6 separate regions of the Homo sapiens genome follow, and regions 1, 2, 4, 5 and 6 are each linked to region 3. Evidence: promoter capture Hi-C in 16 types of primary human blood cells and fetal thymus (Javierre and others, 2016). All regions are on one chromosome and are shown on one strand. Each heading gives the region's core, a stretch centred on a gene start or on the middle of the fragment in contact. The rest is flanking DNA. Distances are from core to core; before and after follow the strand shown. Region 1 overlaps NT5DC1 (5'-nucleotidase domain containing 1). Region 2 overlaps NT5DC1 (5'-nucleotidase domain containing 1). Region 3 holds the start of TRAPPC3L (trafficking protein particle complex subunit 3L). Region 4 overlaps NT5DC1 (5'-nucleotidase domain containing 1). Region 5 holds the start of COL10A1 (collagen type X alpha 1 chain). Region 6 overlaps NT5DC1 (5'-nucleotidase domain containing 1).

Evidence for each region. The method cuts DNA at HindIII sites, captures the fragments that hold promoters and counts their contacts. A CHiCAGO score of 5 or more calls a contact.
Region 1: a fragment that was not itself captured here is called in contact with the fragment with the promoter of TRAPPC3L in region 3 in 15 of 17 cell types (neutrophils, M2 macrophages, naive B cells and 12 more); the score reaches 20.5 in neutrophils.
Region 2: a fragment that was not itself captured here is called in contact with the fragment with the promoter of TRAPPC3L in region 3 in 3 of 17 cell types (naive B cells, fetal thymus and M0 macrophages); the score reaches 6.0 in naive B cells.
Region 4: a contact is called between a fragment that was not itself captured here and the fragment with the promoter of TRAPPC3L in region 3, in 11 of 17 cell types (total B cells, neutrophils, M2 macrophages and 8 more). The highest score is 13.2, in total B cells.
Region 5: a contact is called between a fragment that was not itself captured here and the fragment with the promoter of TRAPPC3L in region 3, in 4 of 17 cell types (naive B cells, naive CD8 T cells, total CD4 T cells and 1 more). The highest score is 7.9, in naive B cells.
Region 6: a contact is called between a fragment that was not itself captured here and the fragment with the promoter of TRAPPC3L in region 3, in 1 of 17 cell types (neutrophils). The highest score is 6.1, in neutrophils.

What each region holds. Positions count from the first base shown.
Region 1 is chr6:116,229,757-116,234,564 of GRCh38, forward strand. All of the region lies in intron 8 of NT5DC1 (5'-nucleotidase domain containing 1), which reads left to right. Among named protein-coding and RNA genes, the nearest start is that of TSPYL4, 22 kb to the right of the region's middle. The HindIII fragment of the contact is 5,967 bases long and covers 186-4,808 here.
Region 2 is chr6:116,165,248-116,169,578 of GRCh38, forward strand. The region is part of intron 6 of NT5DC1 (5'-nucleotidase domain containing 1); the gene reads left to right. It also overlaps a transcript of COL10A1 not described here. Among named protein-coding and RNA genes, the nearest start is that of COL10A1, 41 kb to the left of the region's middle. The HindIII fragment of the contact is 3,388 bases long and covers 1,002-4,331 here.
Region 3 is chr6:116,542,901-116,547,778 of GRCh38, forward strand. It overlaps TRAPPC3L (trafficking protein particle complex subunit 3L), which reads right to left and starts at 2,784. Exons shown (of 5, transcript NM_001139444.3): 1 at 2,573-2,784; 2 at 403-500. The coding sequence starts at 2,614. It also overlaps a transcript of CALHM4 not described here. The HindIII fragment of the contact is 9,007 bases long and covers 1-4,287 here.
Region 4 is chr6:116,185,318-116,189,991 of GRCh38, forward strand. The region is part of intron 6 of NT5DC1 (5'-nucleotidase domain containing 1); the gene reads left to right. It also overlaps a transcript of COL10A1 not described here. Among named protein-coding and RNA genes, the nearest start is that of COL10A1, 62 kb to the left of the region's middle. The HindIII fragment of the contact is 2,343 bases long and covers 811-3,153 here.
Region 5 is chr6:116,125,717-116,129,973 of GRCh38, forward strand. All of the region lies in intron 6 of NT5DC1 (5'-nucleotidase domain containing 1), which reads left to right. It overlaps COL10A1 (collagen type X alpha 1 chain), which reads right to left and starts at 416. Exons shown (of 3, transcript NM_000493.4): 1 at 337-416. RefSeq lists a silencer at 2,450-2,744. The HindIII fragment of the contact is 2,449 bases long and covers 383-2,831 here.
Region 6 is chr6:116,101,878-116,105,793 of GRCh38, forward strand. All of the region lies in intron 1 of NT5DC1 (5'-nucleotidase domain containing 1), which reads left to right. Among named protein-coding and RNA genes, the nearest start is that of NT5DC1, 3.0 kb to the left of the region's middle. RefSeq lists an enhancer at 1,149-1,218. The HindIII fragment of the contact is 3,268 bases long and covers 796-3,916 here.

The sequences.
Region 1 (4,808 bases), core at 1,919-4,418, 310 kb before region 3:
ATTGGGAGAATCATGAGCCAACTCTCTCTGTCTCTCCTCTCTCTCTCTCTGTCTCGTCCCTTGGCCTTAGCTGTCACCAATACACTGACTCTGACTCCCAAATCTTTCCCTGAGACCTGTTTTCCTGAGTCTCATACGCAGTTCCTCCTCCACACTAGGCAGCTCCACTCAGTGTTCTGATATCAAGCTTGAGATTCTCCTTCCGCCTAGAAACCAAAAACAACCAAACATGCCGGTCACCTTGTGTGTATTCTTTACTTAACCATCCATTAGAATTCTCCAGCTAATAACCTCCGTTGTCTTCACCCTTTTACCTCCAGTGTGCTATGCATTAAATCCTGCTTAATATACCTGGGAAATCTCTCATCTTTGTCCTCCTCTCCCTTTCCACTAGGCCATCTAACCCCTCCCCAACCTCTCTTCACTTTTCATTAGCACAGACTTCTATTTTTGAGTTCTTTAAAATTTCCCACATCTTTTTTTATTATTTACTTAGGCACAAATATATTTAATCACATGCACACAATATCTCATTGGCTTCCATTCCATATAGCATCCTAAGGCTAATTGTACAGTCTTGTTCCTAAATTACCTTTCCATCTTCCTTAACTCTATCTCCATAAAAGTACCCTTTACTCCTACTGAAATGATTGCCTTTTATTCTTATATCAAGTTTTTGTTCTCGCTATTCTGTCAACATCAGTGTTTCTCAGACTTTCATGTACACGTGAATCACCTAGAGATCTTGTTAAAATGGAGATTCTGATTCAGAGGCCCTGGTGAAACCTTAGATTCTGCATTTCTAAATAACTTGTCTGGTGAAGCAGATGCTACTGGTTGGAAGATCACACTTTGAGTGGCATAGATATATGTAGAATGCCTTCTCCCTTTCCTCTCTGGTGACTTCCTACCTCTTATTTAAGGTCAGACATACAAATCACACCTCCTTTGCGATACCTTCCTTCTGCAGCTCCAGTCAGAGCTGTTTCCTTCTCTGTATTGTTTAGTGCTTTCACTTGGCTACAGTTGGGAAATTGTCTGCTGAACTTTGTCAGCGGATGTTAGTGCTGAGGGGTGCAGCTGTCTGCAGGAATCTTTCTGTCTTTAGCACAATTCCAACAACATTAACAGCTCCCCGAATGAAGGAGGCTGAATCCATCAGCGAACTAGTCAACCCCATCTCCACTAAAAGTACAAAAAATTAGCTGGGCGTGGTGGCAGGTGCCTGTAATTCCAGCTACTCAGAGGCTGAGGCAGGAAAATCGCTTGAACCCAGGAGGCAGAGGTTGCAGTGAGCCGAGATAGCGCCATTGCACTCCAGCCTGGGCAATAAGAGCGAAACTCCGTCTCAAAAAAAAAAAAAAAAAAAAGAACTATGAATGAATGGTAAATCCCCCCCCCAAACCAAAGTAGATAAGAGTAAGAATCACACTTTTTCTTTAATAGTATAATTGTCCTGTTATAGCCCTCAACACAAGCATTTTACTAGACATTTTACTTGAAAAATGTCTTACCTGTCCATGCCAAGAAACAGAGAAAGTATGTATGAAAATGAACAACTGGAGAAAAAAAAGTCTAGCCCAGAATTGAGGAAGGGATTTATAAAAGTAAATATGAACTGTTTGGTCAAATTTACATATATACAGAAAGGAATCCTAGAAATAAAAATTGTAAATATATTTTTAATCATAATTCATTATTTAGTAACCTCTAACAAGTCAGAGATTGCCACCAGAATATAAGCATCCTTAGGGAAGAGATGTTTAGGGCAGAGACTTGAGCCATCTCATTCACTGCTATATCCCTACTGACTAAAACAGTCTGTGAAATATAGTAAAAATGAAGAATGAGACGAGAAAGAAAATGAATTGTATTTCTAGCTCAGATTCTGTTTGACTCCACCAGGCTGTGCAGATCCTCTCATGTTTGTAACTTTTTACTTGTAACAGAAAAACATTGGCAACAACCCACATGTCTATCTATAGAGGACTATTATTAATAAATAAATAATAGAACATGTGTAAAATAGAATGAAATGCACATATTTTAAAAGGAGGTAGATTACACTGTGCTAGCTATAAAATAGTTTAAAAATAGCAAGTTGCAGAGCCTCATGCAGATTATTCTAATAATAGCATTTAAAAGCGTTTTAAAATTATTAGTATTATATTAGTTTGCTAGGGCTGCCGTAACAAAATACCACAAACTAGATAGCTTGAACGATGTATTTTATTTCTTTGCAGTTCTGCAGGCTGTGAAGTCTGAAACCAGGTTGTAGCAGGATTGGTTTCTTCTAAGGCCTCTCTCTTCTTGGTTTGTAGATGGTTGTTTTCTGCCTGTGTCTTCACATAGTCTTTCCTCTGTGTCTATCTGTGTCCTAATCTCATCTTCTTAAAAGGAGACTATTGGATTAGGTCCACCCTGAGAGTCTCATTTTAATTTAATCCAGCCTTTAAAGGCTCCATCTCTAAATAGTCACATTCTGATATACTAGGGGTTATTATTTTAACTTATGATTTGGGGAGAAACATAATTCAGGCCATAACAAGTATATACATATGCTGAAACTCATCAAATTGTATGCTTTAAATATATTCCATTTATTGTATGTTGATTATGTCTCAACAAATGTGTAAAAACATGGAGGAAAAGAATATACTCATATTCGTATTTGCTTTTATATGCATAAAAGAGGAGAAGAGGTGAGTGCATACCAGATAGAGTTCAAAAATAAGACTTAAAAAACATGTAAATATATTACTGATTCAGAAAAAAATCTCATAAATGCATATTTTTAAACATTAATAAAGTAGTGACACCAAGCACTTGGGGAGTTTAGGGGAGGCAGCAGTCTCTGTGAGTTGAGGTTAGTGCTTCTGGCCTACAAAACTTCTCACAGATTCTGCTCTCTGTGGTAAGTTTTGCTTAGCTTTATTCAAGGCTGTCAGTCTAGCCTTGACTGTATCATTGTCCCATATCTACTTTGTAACTATTATACTGTCAAAAACTTTACTGTTTTTTAAACTCGTCTTGTCCATATGTTCTTACAATAAGAAAATAAAAAGATTTACTTCATTGTAGTAAGACATAGCTATATTTAGGAATAAATTACAGTTTCCAAGACAGCTTTAGTTTTATTTATTTGCCTAAATTGATGGCTCCTCCATCTCTTTATCCAACCTTCATTTGTTTCTTAACTTCATTAGGTCAGTTTTTTGGTAGTTTGTAGGCTAAAAGAAAAGATTTGAGCTTTGTTCTCCTATGAGTTTTCTCCTTTGTAGTTATTTTATAACCCAAACATCTATTAGTGATTAAGTTAAAGGGTTTGAGGAATAATTTGTATATCTTGTAGAACTTTGGTATAGAAAATTGTCCTAATAATATATTTTTATAGAAAAATGTTTTCAATTAATACATTTTACCTAACTGTTAAGATTGCTTTAATTAAAGCTGGGACAGTGGAATTTTAGGAAAGTAATACAGGTTTGCTGTTTTATCAAATAAAGTTTTTTATCAGTGAATTTGAGGGACATTGTGAAAATAATAAACTATAAAATTCAGTTCAAAGGGCATTCTAAAGCCCTCCTTCTTTTCTTCATTCATTGCTGACCTGTTTTCAATATATATGGAAGATTGTAACAGCACTAAATTTGAGCCTTATATAAAGATGCCATAGGAGGTTGGCTGAGGCTCCATCCTAAGTGAGAATTGTTCGTTTGCGGGTGTCCTCAGGGATGCCAGATAAAGGTTTATTCTGTGCTTTAGTTGTTTCCTGTTTGTGGCAATACCATGGGACACATTCAGGTCCAGGAATCCAAATTCGGAAATGCTCTCTGGGAGTATCATCTTACTTTGTCTTCTAGCCCCAATTTGAAATCCTTTGGAATAAGGAGGCAAAGTGCATTCTTGTCCTGGCTCTTACTATAACATTTCAGTGACTTTGGGCAGATTCCTTAACTTTTTCAGATATCAGTTTATTCACCTGTAAATTGAAGGGATTATAGCTAAGACTTCTTAAACACTTACTTTGTGGCAGACACTTTTCCATGTGCTCCATTTTTATCTGTATTAATTTATTTACACAACCACTCTGTGAGGTAAGCATTGTTATTATCCCCATTTTAAAACTGTGGAAGCAAATTATCATCACCATCTATCCCCTTTGTCTTCTTTATTTTTTTCTATATCTTCTAACGTTTATCTTTCTATATCTTATAACTGTTTTTTTTTTTTTTTTTTGAGACGGAATCTCATTCTGTCATCCAGGCTGAAGTCCAGTCTGCAATCGCCACCTCCTGGGTTCAAGCAATTCTCCTGCTTCAGCCTCCCGAGTAGCTGGGACTACAGGCACGCACCACCATGCCCGGCTAATTTTTTGTATTTTTGGTAGGCACAGGGTTTCACCATTCTGGCCAGGCTGGTCTTGAACTCCTGACCTCGTGATCCACCTGCCTCAGCCTCCCAAAGTGCTGGGATTACAGGTGTGAGCCACCATGCCTGGCCCTTCTAACATATTTTTAATTATACTTTTTAAAATGAATATCCTCATTGTACTCTTTGCAGGACACTGTTTTTTGGGTTGGGGTGGGGGTTGTTTGTTTTTAGACAGGGTCTACTTCTGTCACCCAGTGGGGAGTGTGGTGACATGATCTCGGCTCACTGAAACCTCTTTCTCCGGGCTGAAGCTATCCTCCCACCTCAGCCTCTCAAGTAGCTGGGACTACAGGTGTGCAACCCCATACCCAGTGAATTTGTGTAGTTTTTGAAGAGACTGTGGTTTCACCATGCTGACCAGGCTGGTCTTGAAC
Region 2 (4,331 bases), core at 1,446-3,945, 380 kb before region 3:
TTTCTAGTGGCGTTTAAGATTTTTTCTTTAGCATTGACCTTGGATAGTCTGATAACTATATACCTTGGTGATGTTCACCTTATATCATATCTCACTGGTGTTCTGGATTTCTTCCACATGGATTTCTATATCTCTAACAAGATCAGGGAAATTTTCCTGAATTCTTTCTACCAATATGTTTTCCAAATTGCTTACTTTTTCTTCTTCTTTCTCAGGAATACCTATAAATTATAGATTTGGTGACTTCACATAGTCCTGTATTTTTAAAAGGATTTGTTCATTTTTTAAAATTCTCTTTTCTATTTTTGTCTGACTGGGTTAATTCGAAAAATGCCTCTCCTACATCCACAACAGTGGACTGAGGGAGCAGGAGATGACCCCCCTCTACATCTGTTACCAACCACCAGTACCACCCCATTCAGTGATCAGTTTGTACCTGCATTTCCTTTGTCCCAAGGGGGTTCTTAGTGGGCCGCACTTCCCCCTCTTCTAGGGGCAGCCTGTGCTTAGGGCTGAATGTCTGGAAATCCCACAGCTCCCCAGGGACCTGCTGGTCCCCTGTGGTTGTCAAGTCAGAGCAGGTTCTGGGCTATGTTTGCAGGGTACTGGTGATTGCAACAACTTGGGCTGAGATTCCCCATGCAGGGTAGTAGCCCACAATGAATGCACAACCAGTATGGTGTCTGTCCTCTCAGCTCAGGCTTGAGGGGAGTGAGGGGATACCTGCACAAACTAGCCACTCTGTGCTCTGTCCCCAGGAAGATCCTAAATCCGCACTGACAGCATTGCCTGGGGTCATGAAGGTAGAAAGGCTCCCTGACAATTTGGCAGTCAGCAGCTTATTGCAGGGGTGAAGGGAGAAGAGAAGCACCCCAACCTACCCTTCAGGCGGGATTCAGAGGTTCTCGGGAGTCAATCTCTGCGAGACTCTTGCTGCTTTCCTTTTCTGCAACCCCACATCAACCAGTGGGGTCTCCAACAGATCCTGGCTATCTTCCCTAAGCTTTCCATTCAGATCATGACCATTCATCTATGTCTTTGATCTTCTCTCTGAGGATAACTGACATCCAAAATCCCTAGTCAGCCATCCAGATTCCTCCTAACCAACAATTTTGATACATGGTGGTTGGATATTCAGTTCTAATTAAAAACATAAAGGAATGGATCAACCAATCTTCAACAAAGGTGCTAAGAAATCACAATGGAAGAAGGATTTTGTCTTCTGTAAATGGTATTGGGAATAGTGGATATTTGACTAGTAATTGTGATGAATTGCTAGAGGCTGAGTGTTGGGCCATCAGAGAGTGAGAAACTCCTGGCATCGATCTCCATTTACCCAGTTTCCCAGATATTTCCCTTGAGGTTTTCACTGCTGACATCCTTTTCTACATGCTGATAAAAAACACTCTTAAAACCAAGTCAGTAGTGTATTTCAAAAGTTAATTCAGTTATTTATCTAAATCCATGAGAAATTTCTACTAAAGTTTCAGAGACTTTTCATCTTTTATCTAGTAGTTACTTAAATTATGTAAGAGATAAAAATGGTTCCCTGATGTAAACTTCATCACAGTGGTTTCTATTTAAAGACGAAAGGACTGAAATTCTGAAATGTCTGGAATCTGACCTTGAAATGAGAATAATTTTTTGTTATTCAGAATTGAGCCAAAGAATTGAGCCAAGGAAGTATCTTGCCTTCCTTTCTTGTCTTTATTAATTGTTTTGGGGAGCCTACTCTGTACAGAGTTGCATATTAGGCCTACTATAGGACTTATAAAGATGGTTTATAAATTTTTGCCCCCAAGAAAATTAAATCACACTTAAAACTATTCAGAGCATGTGATATCCGTAGAATTATCTTTTATCACTGATGATTTGTATATGTTCAACCAAATGCATCAGATATAAAAGTGACATACTTTGTACTTAAAAGGTGTTTGTAAAATTAGTTCAAATAGAAGATTTTTTTTTTTTTTTTTTTTTTTTTGAGACAGAATCTTGTTCTGTCGCCAGGCTGGAGTGCAGTGGCACAATCTCAGCTCACTGCAACTTCCGCCTCCCAGGTTCCAGCGATTCTCCTGCCTCAGCCTCCCAAGTAATTGGGACTACAGGCATGCGCCACCACTGCCGGCTAATTTTTTGTATTTTTAGTAGATACAGTGTTTCACCGTGTTAGCCAGGATGGTCTCAATCTCCTGGCCTTGTGATCCACTTGCCTTGGCCTCCCAAAGTGCTAGGATTACAGGTGTGAGCCACCGTGCCCAGCCCACATAGAACTTTCTAAGGCAAAAAATATGCATCATTTTGATACCAGTTATTTGTACTGATTTCATTTGATAAAATTGCAATATTTTATAAATTGACAGGCATTTTTTACTTCCTTCTTTTCTTACCCTTCTACCCTTCGTTAGTTTTTAATTTGTTTGAATTGTTCATAGGCAATGTTTCGGCTCAGTGACTTGGGAAGTAGAGCTTTCCTAGAAAAGTCAATGCCCATGACCGTTGTTGGATAATTACGTTGCATAGCCCTCAAGTTGTTATGAATAGATATGATTGTTTAGCTCAAATGAAGTGTAACATTAGAGCTAAACAATCATATCTGTGTATTGGATGTTGATTTTCTGAAAATTTTTTTATTTCACTTTCATTCTTAGAGAATATTTTTAATGGAGGTCTAGGTTAATGGTTATTTTCTGCACTATAGTCTAGTTTCTATTGTTTATGTTGAAAATTCAGTTATCAGTATAATTGTTCTTTAAAGGATAATCTGTTTTGCTGAGATTACTAATTTCTCTTTGTCTTTGGTTTTTCATCTTCGATTTATGATGTACCTGGTGTCTTTTTTTTTTTTTTTTTTTAAATTCTCCTTGGAGGGCTTCTCAGATATTCACTTAACACCATTGGTTTGTTTTGGAAAATTCTGAGCCATTATCTCTAAAAATATTGTTCTGCTCCTTTTCTCTTTTCTCTCTTTCTGGGATTTCAGTTATTCATATTTTAGAAGATATTTTTACTATCATTTATGATCTTTCACCTTCTCTCTTTTCTTGTCTGCCTTTTGTTCTGTTTTCTTTTAATCTCATTTCTAACCATTTTTCTAATTCTCTCTTCAGTTGCGTCTAATCTGCTTATAAACCTATCCATTGAGCTTTTAATTTTGATTACTGTATTTTTCAGTTCTAGAATTCCATTTAGTTCTTTTTCTATTTTTCAATTCTCTGACAAAATCTTGATTTTATTTTAGAGCTTCCTGAATTTATTATTTATAGTTTTCAAGTCTGTCTTTATACCATAGGAGCTTCTGTGGATCTGGTTCAGTCTGTCTTCATGCCATAGGAGCTGCTGTGGATCTGGTTCTGTCGTGTATTTTCCCCCTTTTTTTGATTGTTTGTTTTGTTTTTATATTATATTGTCTCCTTGAGTATCTGATAATTTTTTATTGATACTAGCTATTGTTTTTTTTAATTTTATAGAAAAATGTTGAGGTCTGGATTACTTTCTACAGAGAGTACTTTTCTACAGAGAAAAATGTTGAGGTCTAGGATAACTTTCTACAGGGAGAACTTATGTTTGCTTCTGGCAGGCAGCTAGGGCTCTAGCACTCCTGGATCACCTGTCATCAATTTTTAGAGATTGAGGTGATGTGAAGTTGTGCTTCAGGCCATTGAGAGCTGTATTATATCTGGTTCGTACTTCTTTCTGTAGTATAGCCTTTTGGGTCAACCTGGAGAGCTCATTAACTTCTAATAAACCCTGGAGAGTTTATTAGCCTCTACCTAACCTTGGCAGGCACTGGCCTCCATTTTTTGTCCTCCAAGCCTCTTGAAGATTGCGACTTCTTAGGCTCTCCTTTACTTTTCTTGAAGTTGGTGTTACTGCTAATTCCAGGCAGAAGCCCCAGATTCCAAGCTCAGCTTTCTGGGTTTCTCTTTTCCTCAGCTTCTCAACTTGACCTCTTAAATCTTCATTGACATTTTGGTTCTTCAGTGCTGTTAAGCAGGTATTTTTTAAAGTTTGTTTAACTTTTCTAGTTATCCTCAGTTAGACAATTTGTTCAAATGGCATAGTTCTCCACTGTCAGAAGCAAGAGACCAATTTCCACAACATTTAAAAAATGAAAACATGTTATAGTTTCCAGTTTATGACTGTTACAATATTTTGTGTCTATGCTTACTATATTGCCACTTCTGTAAGTTCAGTAAGCATAGTGATTAGCCAGAATATCATGATAGGTGCCGTAAGTTCTGTATGAAAGACTATATGGTAGGAAAATATATATCTTAACAAGCCTTTTGAGGATTTTAGCTATTCATTTTGCATACTGATCAACTATA
Region 3 (4,878 bases), core at 1,534-4,033:
CTGTGGTTGTGTAAGCATATATTTATATTGGAAGCAGTTGTGTTAGAACAAAAGACTTCTGAAAAGAATAAAATTTGATGTTCCCTCATGTTGTTAATAGAATAATTTCAATTTTACCACATCTTTTGCTTATAAGCGACTCTTAAGTCACTTAAGAAATGATTTCTAACTAAAGAGAAAACATCCCACACTTGATATTTGTAGGAAAAAAATCCTTCCTATTATCTTATTCTATCAACCCAAATGGCACTTGTAAGAAATTATGTTCAGCTTTCAGATGTGATTAATTGAGACAGAAGAACAGCTGGTGAAATGAAGCAAAGGAAGTCATTAGAGGCAGAAAGAATGCAGGTGATGTAAGAAACAACAGCCATTCAATAAGAATGAAGGACTTCCACTTACATTTTATCTAAATATTGGTTCACATCTTCATCCTTCTCATAATCCTTACACAGCTGGGCAACCAGAGCTCCATAGGTAAGGACAAAGAGATCTTTATTCTGGAGAAAAAGGGGTAGTTTCTGGTTATAGGCAAGTTATGACAGTATACTACTGTATTTCTTTTGTTTATAAAATCTGGTTTGAAGTAGCCTTAGAAGTCACCTGTACATTTTTTCCTTCCTCCTATTATTGCAACAATTTGCACTTTTGAAAACAAATTATATTCACATTTGGATACATTGATGTGAGGTGGGGGAGAGAGAGCTGTTAAATAAAATGAATTTCGTAACATGATAACATCTTTCTATGCATTTGCTTACATGATAACTTGCAATGTATTTTCATGGAGGACAGTTTTTTAAAAATACTAATTTCTAACATAAATTTCTGTTTTTCTAAAATATATGCCATCCATGTTTTCAGTTGGAAGCAAGAATTGGATAAGACTTCTCAGGCGTCTGCACAATCCCTAATGGCCCCCAGATCTGCCAAGGAGACCTTCAGGATAAACCCAAATGTAGCAGCAAATTTGTGAGTTTCTTTTCTTTTTACTTAGAGAAAAAAGGGGAATGTGATATTTCCTTATAGTTCTCCAAAATATGTCCCATTTTTAGAGTAAATTATAAATGAAAACTAAAACTTAAGACAATTTAGGTTTGGCTTAGGGTTTTTCCAAGAACCTAATAATAAATCACAAGAAATGCTGGTAAATTATCAATGAAAAGTCTGCTCAACATATAAGAGCCACAGCAGAAGACAAAGTGCTGCCATGTACTAATGCTACAGCATAAAGATAAGCAAAGGTGAAGAAGAGAGAGAGAGAGAGAGAGAGAGAGAGAGAATGATGAGATTGTTGTGACTAGCAGTAAAACAAAAGAATTTGAAAAAGAGAAAAGTAGAAAAAATCATACCCTACCTACATGCCATGGCCCCAACATTGTGTCCCTTTATAATTAAGGCCAAACTGAAATAGTGGAATTTCTTCTCTGTCCCTGATGGGTGGGCACTATTATATATTGAAATCTATTTTATTTCCAGCTGAGTTTCTGGTTCAGTACCCATAAAGGCCAGCTTTCTCTATTCTGCTTCATGGCCAAGGACTGTACCTTGAACTATCTGTTCAATTGGGTCTCAAATCCATACCACAGATGCCAGGAAAGGTCAACATAAGTTTATCTTTATCGTTTTTAAAACAATAAAAATAATCATATGAATATCTGAAAGAACATCATTAACTATTTCAGTAGGTTATGAATGTATCAGGATAAAAATACATTTTAACTGCTTTATAAAATCAAGTGATTTCGGTATAATATGAACTATGTACCATATATTTTTAGCACTTGAGAGTCCCACAGGAAAATAAATCAAGATCCCAGAAGGCCAGAGGAGGTATCTGCAGGCATTTCAAACTGAAGTATGCTAGTTAGTCACTACAATTCTAAACACCAAGTCTGAAATTACTTAATTATATCAAATGCCCATCAGTCTCCTGACATAATTAACAGAATTTTAAAGTTAACAGTGAGTTTTTGTATCTGTAGTATCTGAGTGACTAAAACTATAAGAGAGTATTAAAGAATATTATTTAAAACTAATCTGCAAAAAAATAAGGTTTATAAATAACTCTTAACCTGGAATATATAGAAAGGATGATATTACATACCAAGCTACAATAAGACTAGGAAACATTTTTAAAGGCAATCCTTTTTTGATGACCTATTTCGATTCAGTTTTACACATAATCAACTATATATATACACACATATATATATACATACATACATATATATACATATACATATATATGTAAGTTCCCATTTCCTGAAGTATGAAATAGAAAAAATTGCTAATATTTTCATATTTTCTGTCAGAGGTGAAAAAATTGACACTCATATTGATATAATTAGTCAGAAAAGAAGACCTTAAAGTGTGTATAAAGAATTGATTATTCTTTATGTAGGAGATAATCATAATTATTCCTAGATGTGTCATTTATGATTCACTTCGCTGAACACTGTCTTTCCTCCACTAAAAATTCTTATAGCATCAGTTTTTAAAATCAATCAGAAATCACTCAAGAAAACATTTTCTCTGAAGTAGAAAAAATCTCTTTGTAGAAAGATCTTACTATTTTATGGTATTCTGGTCTTCGGTGTGCAGGGCGAGACATAGTGCTTGATAGATGAAGAATATGATCTTCAATTTCTCTTCTTTTGCCTGTTTCTTAGAGGTGTATCAGTCCATGTCTTTTTGTTTTGTTTTTGTAAGCTCTTCCTCGCTTTGAGACAGGAGTGCTGCTTCTGCACTCTGCTGCTTTTGCTCTTTGCTGAGCTGAAGAGGGAAAAAAACCATGAACAACAGGATTGTCTTATAGCCACGTAACTTGCCATGGATCAAATAACTGCTTCATTTGTAAGGATGAATTGTAATCTAGAGCCATAAAAGCTGATAATGTGAAGTCAGACCTGAAGCACTGCAACTCAAAAAATTCTTTAGCCCGAGGGAGTTCAAGAGTGGTGTTTTGTTCTCAGGCCAAGACATTGTTTTAAAATCAGAAACAGAAACCTTCGCAATCCAAGATAGATCTAAATGTTAGCATTATTCAGTCTTGGATTGATTGTTGTAAGAATTAGAGAGACAAGATCAGCAATCTGTAGGTAATAAATCCTGAGTTAAAACGTGATCCCTCAACTACACCAATGGTTATCACACTGTCCCCAAAACCATAGATCCCTATCTTGTGTGATTACAGTATTCAAATATATCTGGTAACTTTTTTGCTTTTCATTAGCAGCAATCAACAACATTAAGGAGTGATAGAATGGGCAATATTTTCTTACAAAACTGTTGTTCAAAATGGGCGCTCTACAGTATCATAATGTATAATGATTCTGATAGAGAAAGTAAGCCCTTAGCTTTCTTTTGAGAGCTCCTGAGACGTAAGCTATTGAAGGCTCTCTTTATTTACGCAGAAATACTTAAAGTTCAAATAAAAAAATCCTTTCACCTTGACAACTGCAGGGTGCAGAGTAGGATCAAAATCTTTCCAGAAATGGAAGCGGAAAACTCAGTTTAGGAAAGTAATTTTCTTCTACTTATAGTTTGAGTCCATTAGTCCTATTTGTTCTGGAAAATTCTTGCTATAAAGTGACAAACTCAAGAATACTTTGACGAAAAGTGTGGTGTAGTTGAAAGAACCTAGGAGGATTTGGAAGGCTCAGGCTGTTGCAGCCCTACCATTTACTGGCTGTGTGGCATTGGGCAAGCCATTTTATTGCTCTATGACTCAGTTTCCACATTTGCAAAATGGCAACAATATCACTCACCTCACAGAATAATTGTGAGAACCAAAGAGACGAGGCGTACCGTAAAACACATTAAAATGCACCATATAATAACTAGTTACTATAGGTTATTCTTGTGGTTGGATAAATTGAATGGAATTCTACAATACCTAAGGCATTTCCATCACTGCATATGTTCTATGACACTATGATCTCAGGAAAATTAATTTCACTTAGTTGTGGGGTATGGGGTGGAGAGTTTTTCAGTAGCAAATAATAACGACTTATATGTATATCAAATTTACAGTTTACAACATGGTTTTCGTTCTCTTCATCTCATTTTAATTCAGATACAATCTGTGAAATAGTACTGTAATCATGGCCATTTTACAGGATAAGAATCTAAAAGTAGAGAGGTTGAGAAATGTATTCAAGGTTATCTGGATGTTGGCAACAAGAAGGGATTTGGGCTAATTTTGATGATTCCAAGTCAAATTTATTTTGTACCGCACACACTCTAATTATGTTAGAGCAAACTATTTTAGAGGCAGACTCAAAAAGCTTACTAAGGTGCAGGGACAGCATGTTGCTGGGTCAATTTGTGGGCAATCCTAGTTCTGAGTAAGATACCCCAGAGAATAACCTACAAAGGGCCTGTGTGCTTGCTGCGAGGTGATGGCGGTACTGGAATCAATTTCACCAAACTCTAATGGCTGTGGTATGGTCACATTATGGCCATCGGGAGAATTCGGGATGTCATTGGATGTATTAGAAAAAGCCGGCTTTTACTTCAGACTGACATGGCTCCCCTCTGCTCCATTGACCTTCCAGTCAAGACACGAGCTTAAGGAAGGAGCAGAGCCCCTGCCAGGTGCTACTGTACAAAGCACAACCTTCACGACCACAGCTGTACTCATCATCACAGGGGACACTGGTTTGCTGGTTTTCAGTCTATGAAACCTGCTAGTCTTCAGCAGCTCTTAGGATGCAAGTGAGCCCTGTGTTCCCCAGACTCCTTTTTTAATGTAAATGTACTCCTCCCTTAAATAGAAGAAAGCACAGAGATGATGTTTCAAGCGGGTACATGATCTATAATGTCTGCCCTGGCAGCCAACTAGGAAAGAATTATTCCAAGATAATGCATAAGCAA
Region 4 (4,674 bases), core at 732-3,231, 360 kb before region 3:
GAAAAGAATGTCTATTCTGCAGTTGTTGGGTAGAAAGTTCTGAAAATATCTGTTAAGTCCATTTGTTCTAGGGTATAGTTTAAGTCCATTGTTTCTTTGTTGTCTTTCTGTCTTGATGGCCTGTCTAATGCTGTCAGTGGAGTATTGAAGTCCCCCACTATTATTGTGTTGCTGTTGATCTCATTTTTCTTAAGTCTAGTAGTAACTGTTTTATAAATTTGGGAGCTCTACTGTTGGGTGCGTATATAGTTAAGATTGTGATGTTTTTCTGTTGGACTAGTCCTTTTATCCTTATATAATGTCCCACTTTGTCTTTTCTAACTGCCGTTGCTTTAAAGTTTGTTTTGTCTGATGTAAGAATAGCTACGCCTGCTTGCTTTTGGTATACATTTGCATGGAATATTTTTTTCTACCCCTTTACCTTTAGTTTGTGTGAGTCCTTATGTGTCAGGTGAGTCTCTGGAAGACAGCAGATACTTGGTTGGTGAATTCTTAGCCATTCTGTCATTCTGTATCTTTTAAGTGCAGCATTTAGGCCCTTTACATTCAACGTTAGTATTGAGATGTAGCATACTATTCTATTCATCCTGCAAGTTGTTTCCTGAAAACCTTGGATTTTTTTCATTGTATTGTTGTTTTATAGATCCTGTGAGATTTATGCTTTAAGGAGGTTCTATTTTGGTGTATTTCAAGGATTTCTTTCAAGATTTAGAGCTTCTTATAGTGGTTCTTGTAGTTCTCTTTTGGTAATGGCAAATTCTCGCAGCATTTGTTTGTCTAAAAAAGACTGTGTCTTCCCTTCATTTATGAAGCTTAGTTTCACTGGATACAAAATTCTTATATGATAATTATTTTGTTTAAGGAGAACAAAGGTAGGACCCCAATGCTGTCTAGCTTGTAGGGTTTCTGCTGAGAAATCTGCTGTTAATCTGATAGGTTTTCCTTTAAAAGTTACCTGATGCTTTTGTCTCATAGCTCTTAAGATTTTTTTTTTTTTTCATCTTCACTTTAGATAACCTGGTGACTGTGTGCCTAGGTGGTGATCTTTTTGCGATGAATTTCCCAGGTGTTCTTCCCAGAGCTGCTTGTATTTGGATGCCTAGATCTCTAGCAAGGCTGGGGAAGTTGTCCTCGATTATTCCCTCAAACATGTTTCCCAGACTTTTAGATTTCTCTTCTTCCTCAGGAACACCAGTTGTTCTTAGGTTTGGTCATTTAACATAATCCCAAACTTATTGGAGGCTTTGTTCATTTTTATTTAATTCTTTTTTCTTTGTCTTTGTTGGATTGAGTTAATTTGAAAGCCTTGTCTTCGAGCTCTGACTTTTTCTTCTACTTGTTCGATTCTGTTGCTGCGAGTTTCCAGTGCATTTTGCATTTCTCTAAGTGTGTCCTTGACTTCCAGAAATTGTGATTGCTTTTTTATTTATGCCATGTATTTCACTGGAGATTTTTTCATTCGTATCCTGTATCATTTTTTTGATTTCTTTAAGTTGGACTTGTGCCTCCTTGATTGACTTAATAGTTGATCTTCTAAATTCTTTTTCTGGCAATTCAGAGATTTAGTCTTAGTTTGGATCCATTGCTGGTGAGCTAGTGTTATCTTTTGGGGGTGTTAACCATGTTTGTCATATTACCAGAATTGTTTTTCTGGTTCCTTCTCATTTGGGTAAACTATGTCAGATGGTAGATCCGGGACTCAAGGGCTACCGTTCAGATTCTTTTGTCCCACAGGGTGCTCCCTTGTTGTGGTGTTCTCCCCTTTCCCCTAGAAATGGCTCCCTGAGAGCCAGACTGCAGTGATGCTATTTCTCCTCTGAATCTAGCCACCCAGCAGAGCTACTGGGCTTTGATCTGGTACTGGGAAGTGTCTGCACAGAGTCCTGTGATGTGATCTGTATTCAGGTCTCTTAGCTGTGGCTACCAGCACCTGCTCCAGGAAAGGTAGCAGGGGAGCGAAGTGGACTCTGTGAGGGTCATTAGTTGTATTTTTGTTAAGTCCAACCAAAATTTTAACAAGTTTCTTTATAGAAAACTGAAGCTCATGCCACAATTTATATGGAAATGAAAAGGGCCATGAAGAGCCAAGACACTCATGAAGAACAGGGCAAGAGGGTCTGTCCTACAAGACACTAGCAAATAATTCATGGCTTATTTTAAAGTTACAGTAATTTGGTCAGAGTGCTTTTGGTATAAAGACTGACAACTAGAAGATCACTGAACCGGAGATGCCAGAAAAGACCTTTGCAGTTGTAGACACATGCTTGATGACAGAACAGGTACAGCAGAGCAGTGGGGAAAGGACTGTCATAAAGGGTGCCTGGAGAGTTGGAAATCTATGTAGAAATTCATAAAACTTGATCCCTACTCACATATTAGACAAAAATCAATTTCACATGGATTATAGAAACAAATATGAAAGGCAAATCAGTAAAGCTATCAGAAGAAAATCTGAGAAAAATAGCTTCATAGCTTAAAGATAATGAAATATTTCTTAAATAGGATAGAAACAGTATTGATTGATTGTAAAGGAAAAGTGAATAAATTTGACAAACATTAAACGTCTCTCTTCATAAAAAATTACTAAGAACGAAAGGGCAAGTTATAGAAGAGAAGATATTTGGAATACATATAATGATAAAAAGACTTTTATCTAGTGTAAAAAAGACCTATAAATCAGTAACAGGAAGACAGCAACCCAGTAGAAAATGAACAAAAGTCTTGACAGGCAGTTTACAAATAGGGAACTCTAAATGGCCAATAAACATGAAAATGTGCTTATGCTTATTAACAGTCATGAGAGTGCTAATTAAAGTTCAATGAGGTACCACTAGATATCCATCAGAATAGTTGGAATTAAAGAATCTAGTGATTTCAGTGGTTGGTGAGGATGTGAAGCAAAGAGAACCCTTAAACTGCTGGTGGGAGTGTAAATTGTTGAGTTGGTTTTGAAAATTGTTGAGTATTATCCTATAAAGTTGAAAGTGAGCATTCCCTATGACACAGCCATATTAGGCTGCAATATATACCATCCAGAATGTTCTTAGTGGCATTCACTATTACACCAAATTAGAGACAGCCCAAATATCCCTCAATAGTGCAGTTGCTATGCAGTGTGTCATACAGTGACATTCTATTCATCAATGAAAATGAAGCTTTATGAACAACATGAATGAATCTTAAAAACAGAAAATGAGAGAGAAAAAGCCAGTAATACAGGATATACATATTCTATGGTTGCATTTATAAAATAGATATTAAAATGGGTTACACTAGAGCATAATTAGGTAGTAAAGCCAGAAAAGTAAGGATGTACCATAGATATGAGGATAGCAATTACCTTTCAAGGGTGGTATCAGAGGACTTCTGGTATCCTGGAAATTTTCTACTTTTTTTTTTTTTACCTGATTAGCAATTACATGAATGTTTATAACATTTCAACCAAAGCACAGATTTATGTTTTTTGTCTTTTCTATGTGTGTGTATGTTTTATAATTTTTAAGATTATGTATAACTTCTGATTTAAGGAGAGAAGGCCTATTTCATAGCTGATACTCTGTTTTTTAATTTGGATCTGTTTATTTATAATTAAGCTTCACTACCATTTTGCAGAGTGGAGTTTAATTTATAATTGGAATGGATAAATAAAACATTATCATTGGCCCCACATTAGAACTTCACTGTATTTAAAACAGATTTTATAAATTCTAGAAGTTGTATCCTTGTATATTCACAGTTAAAGTCATTATCAGTTTTCTCATTGCAATTGATTTTTTAATAATTATTTTAATCAAGTTGAAATGAGATGTTTAGTAGTAATACCTTTCCTACTTGAATTTTGTTCTTTTTTTTAGTTGACCACTCTTGAGAAATTTATTTTAGGTACAAATTGTAATAAAAGTTTTACTTCTATTTATTAACTGGTACTTTTTTCTCTTGTAAACCTTTAGAATTGTGTAATTGATTGTGCATGTGTATATTTTTTCCCTCATTTTGAGGGCTAGTAAGCTCACAACCCGATTTGAGACTTACATATAGTTCCAGTATTGCAGTATATTTACATTTATTTTTTGTCTTCGTAGTCTTGACATTTTATTCTGATTTTCTTTAGCTTGGGATACTTATTCTTTATATACCTCCCTCTCATTTCTAACTATATTTTGCAAGCAATTTAGAACCTTTTTATATTTAGGAGGAGAAGACACAAATGAACATATAAACGAATGAGTATTGGATGACATTGAGTTGTGCTTGAGACTACTGGTTCTCTATAGTTCTTGTGTATTAAATAAAGTTCAAAAGTTTAAACCAGTTATGCAGACTGTTTTTCTATTTTTAAAAGGCCCTTGCCTGTCAAATGAGAGTAAATATTTATAGTTGGCCATGGTGAAATGTTCTGAGGATGAAAAAAAAATGATTTTAATAGAACAGCATCCTTAATAGAAGATGGATACAAAAATCCATTCATATGCAGGAACTAGAAAAGAATGAAGTAATGGTAGACAGCAGTTACTTAGTTACAGCTAAATGCTTCCGTTCAGGGGAAGCACATAATTCTCTTATTGTATACTATGCTATATGTATGTTTTTGCCTTTTAAGATTTTTAACTGATTTCAATAAAGAAGTAAATGTTTGTTGTTCTTTTACTAGTTTTCAGGTAGTGGCACAATAAT
Region 5 (4,257 bases), core at 357-2,856, 420 kb before region 3:
AAGTGAAAATAAAATGATTTACCTAAAGGAAAAGAAACAGAAATTAGGATTGGATGTCTGTATTAAATAATCTAGGATCTTTGACATAGCCTGAAATATCTAATAGTTTCAAAATACACTGAAATTCGGATTAGGGCAAATTTTTACAATATGGTTTTATTGGGACTATCATCCACAGACTGATGCAAAAAGAACTTTTGGAGTGCATTTTAGTAGAAACCCATTTTTTAAATCACTTTAATACTTCTAATACTTGAGAAAACTCAAGTATTTAAATCTTTAAAGTTTCTTTCCAAGCAAGTTAACATGGAAGTCCACCAGTAAGCGTACGCTTACCTGCGTGCTGGGAGTTCCTGGAGATGGTGCCTTGGCAGCTTTCTGAAGCTTCCTCTGCCCAGATGAGCAGTGCAGAAGGTGCCTCTCAAGAGCTGTTCAGTGGTATTTATACTGTTTTTCCCTTACTACATGAGGTTACCCTGAGCTTAAGCTCCTCCCCTCAAAGTTGGTAAGCACTAATTATGGTGGAAAGTTCTATTGGGTAGGCACACAAGATCGGGCTGGGCTCTCCTTTTCCTTGTTTTCTTATTTAAAAATAAACCCATTGTCTTAAATATATATTAATAGTTTTAACCAAGGACCGTCTTTGTCTGTGATTCTATTTTATTAATTAATACTCTAGTGTTCAGGCTGGTTCACGGTGGAATGATGATACCCCCTTTTTATTTTTGAAAAGCACATTCTTATGTTAATTGGTTGATATTATATAATATGTGGTAGTACATAAAAGCGGATAAAATTCCTTGAAGGGGGTACTGGATTTAGACCATCATCTAAATTATTGAGTTATTACATAAAGTTATCAATGTGTCTATTAATATTCATAAATTTTTGTGAAAATAGCTGACCCCAATTCTTAATTACTTTTAGGCTTTTAGGATTTAGATCCCTTATTCACAACACTACGCTATATTCAGTAAATGACTTCAGATTTTCTTGCTTAAATTTGGGTTTACTTTAGAGTTGCAGTAGAGTTTGCAAAAACCCCTTAATTTGATAATCTCATATTATGTTAATTTACATAAGATTGCTGTGTTTATTTCAGGAGAAAAAAATTTTCAAACTTTGCTTTCAGCTTAAAAAAAATATTATTGGCTTAACTTGCAGTTAGGAATCATCCCAATTAGAAACACTTTCCCTCAAAGGTGGAAGTAAACACTATTGTTGTCAATTTTGGTAGTTAGACTCTGTTTAACAATATTAGGAAGCCTTTAAAATCAGTTTTTAGGATCCTAAAAAATCTAATAAAGGTGGGAAGTTGAGAGTCCAAATTTTTCATCTTATTTAATTTCATCGTTTTGAATCAAAATCAAATTGACTATGCAGGTGAACTGGTTGAGGAGGACAATTCCATACACAGGCATAGACACATCATTTTTCTACCTCCACAGAATTAAAGTAGTATGGATTCAGGACTAATCAATAATTGAAATAATTGAAAGTTTGACCAGTGAATGAACTAAAGATTTGTCCTTTTTCTTTTCCCTTTCTCTCCCCTTCAAGCAATTTTCTGTATTTTAAACAAAGCCTTGTATAGCCCTTTATGGAAATGTAAATGGATAAGGCATCTCATTGCCTCTCTCCTCTTGCTTGTAAGCATTTTGTTGATTGCCATATTAAAAAAATTTACATTGTTGTATATATCTCTGTATAATACTCATAGATACATATAAAATATGTTTCTTATAGCAGTTTAGAATAACAAAATAGGAAAGTTTATAATTCATCATTTGGAAATTATATATGGAATAGCTTTTGTAATTATAATATGTACTCTGCTACATCTGTAGGAGACTACAAAAGATAAGTGAGAGAAAACACCTGCCTTTTGGCTTATGGCCCATTTGGACACAATTTTGAAAAAGTAGGTGAGGTAACTTTATGGATGCTTTTGAATGCTAGGTTGAATTTGTTTTGAAAGGAATTATTAAAATATATATTTTAATATTTTGTGTGTATATATGGTGATACACATGCACACACATACTGCTATTTGCTTATAATTGAGACTGATACCCTGTTAGTTATCACTCGTGAACGTTCAGAAGACTAATTCTCAGCTCTTAATACATAGTGCTATGCCCCTGTGTATACCATTTGTTCATCTGTGGCTATTGCAACAATTTTCAGAGCCTTTCACTTTAACCTCTCTGGGTGTCTGTTTTTTATCAACACAATGAAAAGTTTGGACTAGGTGGTTTCTAAGCTCCTCCCAGTTTTAAAATTAGATTATTCCTGTGCTTGAGGTATTCTGCTGTTCTCCATGGTCAGATGGTAGACTTGGCTCCAGTTAGTACTTATTAGAGACACAAAAAAATCCATACCAGGAGGTTGTATGTCTTCTTTTAGGGATATGTAAATATATGTGGGTATTTGTCATTCTATACTCCCCTTTAGTTTTGGAAAATGTGGTGTCCTTATTGAATAAGCCTTGGACATTCAACCCTTTTTGCAAATAGTGTACTTATTTCAGCACAAGGAATCTGACTGCTGTTTGCTTTGTTAGTCACATAAGAAGCACTGTCTTGTCCAAAACAGATTGTAGAATCAGAATATTTTCTAGCCACACCCCACCCAATTGTGTATTTAAAACTATTTTTACTCTGGGTGTTTACTTGTAGCTGTTTGAAGTGACTAGTCTGTGGCTTTATGAAGGAAACCCATTCCACTCAAAACAGAGAGCCATACTCTTTAAACTCTATAACCTGAGTAATTTTTTTAAATATCAAATATGAATAATGATTTTTTTCACATCTGGCAGTTAGCTACTATTAAGCTTGCCTATTCATTTGTACATCTGTGGATCGTTAATTAATTCACCTTATGTTTCTTAAGTGCTTCTTAAGTGTTAGACATTAAGATAAATACTGGGTGAATAATATATATTCTATACCCTTAAAGTGTTTACACAGTGGTTCTCAGCCTCTTTTCCCCACTCCTGCTGTCCTGAGGGAAATGCACAATTCCTTCAGCCTTTGAGGTTCATTAAAATAGTGGTGGTTCAAAGACTATATTTTCATGAAGCTCCTCAGGTGATCATGATGGCCTCCTAAGTTAGAATGTATAGTCTGATATCAGTGTTCTATTACCACCTTGTTAATATTAGTTACATTGGTTTTTGTTATTTGTGTTCATATGCTTTTTAAACTTTTTTACAGAAAACTTGTCTTTTATAGTAGTGAGAATAGTTACAATAAATGCCTATATGCCTGTCATTCAAACTGATCTCAACTCGCTGTCACTCAATTCTCTTTTCATTCACCACTCCTTCAAATTTTGAAGTAAATCCCATATATTGTACCAATTTACCTGTGAATATTTTGGTATATTTTTCCAGAAGAGAAGGAGTCTTTTTTCTTTAAAACAATGTCATCATCGTATTAAAAAATCAGCCATTTCTTAATATCATCAAATCCTGTAGTTCACATACATATATAGACATGTATATACACAAACATATGTATACACATGTCTATATTATATAGAAACACATACATACATATCCACATATATTTTTTATTGATTGATAAATTGTTTGTTGAAATTAGGTTGATTCATATATCCCTGTTGTCATGGTTTGAATGTATCCCCCAAAGTTCATGTGTTGGAAACTTAATTCTTAATGTAACAGTTTTGGCAAGTGGGATCTTTAAGAGGTGATGAGGTTGCGAGGACTATGCCCTCATAAATGGATTAATGTTATTGTGGGAATGGGTTAGTTGTTGTGAGAGTGGGCTTTATATAGAAGCAAGCTCGGCCCCCTTTTGCTCTCTTGCACACTTTTGCCCTCTTTTGCCCTTCTGCCTTCTGCCATGCGATACTACAGCATGAACGCTCTCTCCAGATACCGGTGCCATCCTCTTGGACTTCCTAGCCTTCAGAACTGTGTGCCGAATAAAGCTCTGTTCATCATAAATTACCCCGTCTGTGGCATTCTGTTATAGTAGTGTAAAATGGACTAAACCTGTTACTCTAGGTGTCTTGTGTCACTTTTTACTCCCTTGCAGTTTATTTGTTGAAAAGCCGTGTCATCTGTCTCATGCAATTTCCTGTGATCTAGAATTTGTTGTCACTTAACTTGCTACTGTGGAGATTGGTAGTTAAATCTAGAGTTTTCATCTGATTTCAGGTTTGAGATACACACATTCACTCACACACAGATACAGCACACACAAATACATTTTTTGGCAAGAACCCTTT
Region 6 (3,916 bases), core at 1,180-3,679, 440 kb before region 3:
TGAGTACAGTGGTGAAAGCGAGGACTCCTCAGCCAGACTGCCTAGCTTAGGACACCAGCTCCACTGTTACTAGCTCTGTGACTTCGAGGAAGTTACTTAACCTGTGCTGCTTCTCAGTTTCCCCATCTGTAAAATGGAGCTAATAATTGGATTTACCTCACAAGATTGTTGCAAGGATTAAATGAGTAAGAGATGTATAATGCTTAGAATAGTACCTTGGCAAAGACAAGTGTTTGCTTTTATGGTTACCACCCAAACTATTTGGAAACCTCACAGTTTATGGGTAGAACTCTAGATCACTGGTGCAGACATCAGCCAGGGTTGTGCCCCATTATGGGCACCCGCCAGTTCCTGCACCCACCAGTTCAGGTACACGTTAAAGGTCAAAAAAGAGTGGCTGCCCGAATTTCTCGTGTGTTTTCTATGCCCAGATGCTAAATTTTTTTTTAAATGTCCTTTTTCTGCTGTTACACTTTCCTGCTTTCTTACCTTACAGGTCTGGTTTCCTTAGTCACATTGAGAATTAAGAAGGCTTTTTTACTGCTTGATTCTTTGGCCACTGCTTCCCCTAGGTCTTTGATACATGTTTTCCTTCCCTCTGTGTCTTTCGAATCCTTCCTGGTTCACAGTTTTGTGTGTCTCCTCTTTAGTTACCTTCATTTGGAGGTAATATTGTTAAACCACTGTCATGTTAGAGCTAGTGTTGTCCATAGGTGATCATAAAATTTCAGAATATAAGATTCTCAAAGACAAGAGGTTTTTTTACTGCAAACCTGGAGAATAAGTGATGTTTAAAGCTTGAAAACAGTAACCTATTGAGTTTTGGATCATGTTTGGTGTGGAAATCTTTTTTATTTTAAGTCCCACAGTGTGCTGAGCACCATGCTAGAGCTGAGGATACAGAGATCAACACGCAGGCCTCCAGGCAGCCTTACACAGTAGGCAAAAATGCTGAAGAGTTAGTCTTGGTCCCTTGTGGTGGGTAGTATGACCTGGGTCTTGCTTCACGCTGCCAACAGTGCCTGGAGGGCCTCTTTGCTCTGCACAGAAGCTCTTCATCCCATCAGGCCTCATCTTAAACATCGTTCCCCTTAGGAAGTCTTTTTGGCCCTTAAAGTTTGCCCTTCCATTCTAAGCCCACCTTCAGTTTTCCACAAAACCCTTCATTCCTCATAGCACATGCTGCATGATATTAACACTTCCTGTTTACTTGTTGGACTTCCCCTAGAGCCCAGCGTGATGACTCCATCAGTATCTGTGACAGTTTCTTGTGTGTTCTGTGTGCCGAGCTTAGTGCTGGGCACATACTGGACTCAATAAATAGACTGAATAGATAATAGGTATTTTAATAACAGAATATGATACAGCCATGATTCTAATAAGCATGCTGCTTATATGAATGGATTTAATCCTTACAACGTCCCTGTGAGGTAGATATTATCACCACTGTTTAATCACTTAACAGTGATTTAGTCACTGTTAAGAGAGCATCAAGCAACGGGGCACAGAAGGAAAGTGTATCCAGGGCAACTAAGCGAGGTAGTCCGGCTGTGGATTTCTGCTTCTTCCCACCTTGCTGTCTGTATGGTGCCCGAAAACACAGAGGAAAGGCCGGGAGCTGGCAGGTGAGGAGGTGGAGAGGAGTGCTTCACCCAGAGGAGTTAGAGTAAAGGTCAGAACCTCGAGGTGAGCAACAGCACCGGGAACTGCTGGGTGCAAGCAAAAGGTGGCAAGTTGCAGGAGAAGATGGTGGAGAAGTCAGTGGGGGCTGCATCATGGAGAGCTGTGAGTGCGTCTCCTTTCAGTTTTGTAGGCATTTAACAACTGCACAGAGTTGTGCAAACACAGAACTGAGTGTGTCCCCCTCACATGAGGCCTCAGGAAAGGCATTCTAGAAGAGAGGATGACACATGGTTTCTCCTCTCTAAGGTTGCAGACTCAGAAGTCTGATACCAGTCAGTTAACGTAGATGTGTGAGTGGGAGAGTGGGGTCCCAAATATTGCATGCTTATACTAAAAAAAAATTATTTGTTTTTTATTTGAAAGTCACATTTACCTAGGCATTTTTAAATTTTATCTGGCAACCTTAAGTGGGAACCAAACATAATTTGTAGGCTGCATATGGACCACAGGGTACCAATTGGCAACTGCAGTAGAACGTGTATTATTATTACTCCTGAGAGACTGTGAGGTGGTGATAGCTAAGGCTGGGGGAGGAATGTCATGGAGAGCCCTGTGCCATGAAGGCTTCTAGAGAGACTCAGCGTACTCTAAGGACAAACTGCAAGAAGCCTTCTGCCTAGACCAGGGGTTTCAGAGTACAGATGCCCCTGCTTTTCTTCACACTGCTTTTCTCTGCTTCTTTTCCTTGTCCATTGGCCCCCTTCTCTCCTGTTACAGAAAAATCTCCTCCACAAGGTAAGGAACACAGCTGTTGCTGTCCCTGTTGGCGTCTCTGATGGAAAGGGCTCCTTTCTTCCAGGAGAATTCAAGTGTTTTAGAATTACATGCCCATATCTTAGACTAATCACTTGAATAACTGGAGAAACTCAAAAGTGCCTCAATGAGAGGCAAATCTAAGGTGTACAATAGCTGGCTCTTAGGGGCTTGTGAAAGCCAATTGTTAACTATTCAGGAATTGTGCAAGCAGGTAAACTGCTGTTGGTGACTTGAAACAGGCCATGGTGGGAATATTTACACCGTGGAGATGGGCAAGCGCTACCTGTCAGGGCAGTGTTTTTGTTTTCTGTTTTTTTGTTTTGTTTTGTTTTGTTTTTAGCAGCATACAACATAATAATAGCAAATACTTAAATTGGATTTGCTGGTGTGCCAGGCTCTGCTCTAAGCATTTTACATCTGTTAGCCCTGCAGCACTGGTTTCTTATAAGCAGGATCGTGATGTGGACTTTTTATTGTCCATAGTACTTTGTACCACAGGGTGACTCAGTGTATTTTTTGTTGCTTTTTTCCTTTTAATGATTGAATAAAAATCTGTAAAACATGCAGGTCAGTGATTTTCAGTGTTCTCTGTGCTTCAGAGAGGGCCCTCTCTACCCTGTATGCTTGGAAGCTCTGGGTAGTTTTAAGAAGTGTCACCTATGGTTCTGAATCACCACCAGGGTTAAGAACTGTTGATATATAGTGTTAACATAATGTGGTTCAATTAACAGTTGACCTGGATAAGGTCACATTGCACTGGATGGAAGTACATGTGTAGTGATTTTAATTAGCTTTATGACAGGGAGCAACTCGATTTGACATTTCACAAGGAGCCTTTGCTTTCTCCATGCTCATATCCTGACACTCAGACCCCGACACCCCTACTCCAGCTGTGTGCAGGCCCCTCAGTTTCTGAACCTGAGTTGCCCCCCATTCCCTCTGCATTCACCCAGCGAACTGCTGCATCTAAGTATCAGTGTAAACCTCACTACCCAGGAGAGATTTCCCCTGCTCCTCTGCCTCCCTCTTCTCCCTAAAAGTATGACATGTTATCGAAACCTGTTGTGGGTTAATATCTGTAGAAGAAGGGTCAGATTGTTCAGTGTGTCCTTTTGGACACTGTGCAGGTTGACTCAGACAACTGTTCTGCTCAGGCTCAAGTTTACCCAACACTGGCCAAAGAACACTTCGAGGTAGAATAAGGTTGGACCATCTACCTTTTGTGCACTTTTTGTTTGGTATGTACAGTTCTTTTAAAGTTAGCCAGCACTTAAAAACCAGATATTTTACTCAAAAACCTAGCATTTTTTGTTGTTGAGAAATAAGATCTGTCAGCAATCAACAGAGTATTTATTATTGTAATTATTGTACTTGCTTCCAGAGGCTTTCTTTGTCCTTTGTCTTTAGATTTTTTTTTTTTAATGGTTTTTGTGTATGTGTGTGTGGAGAAACAAGAGTGATTACCTGTATCTGATAG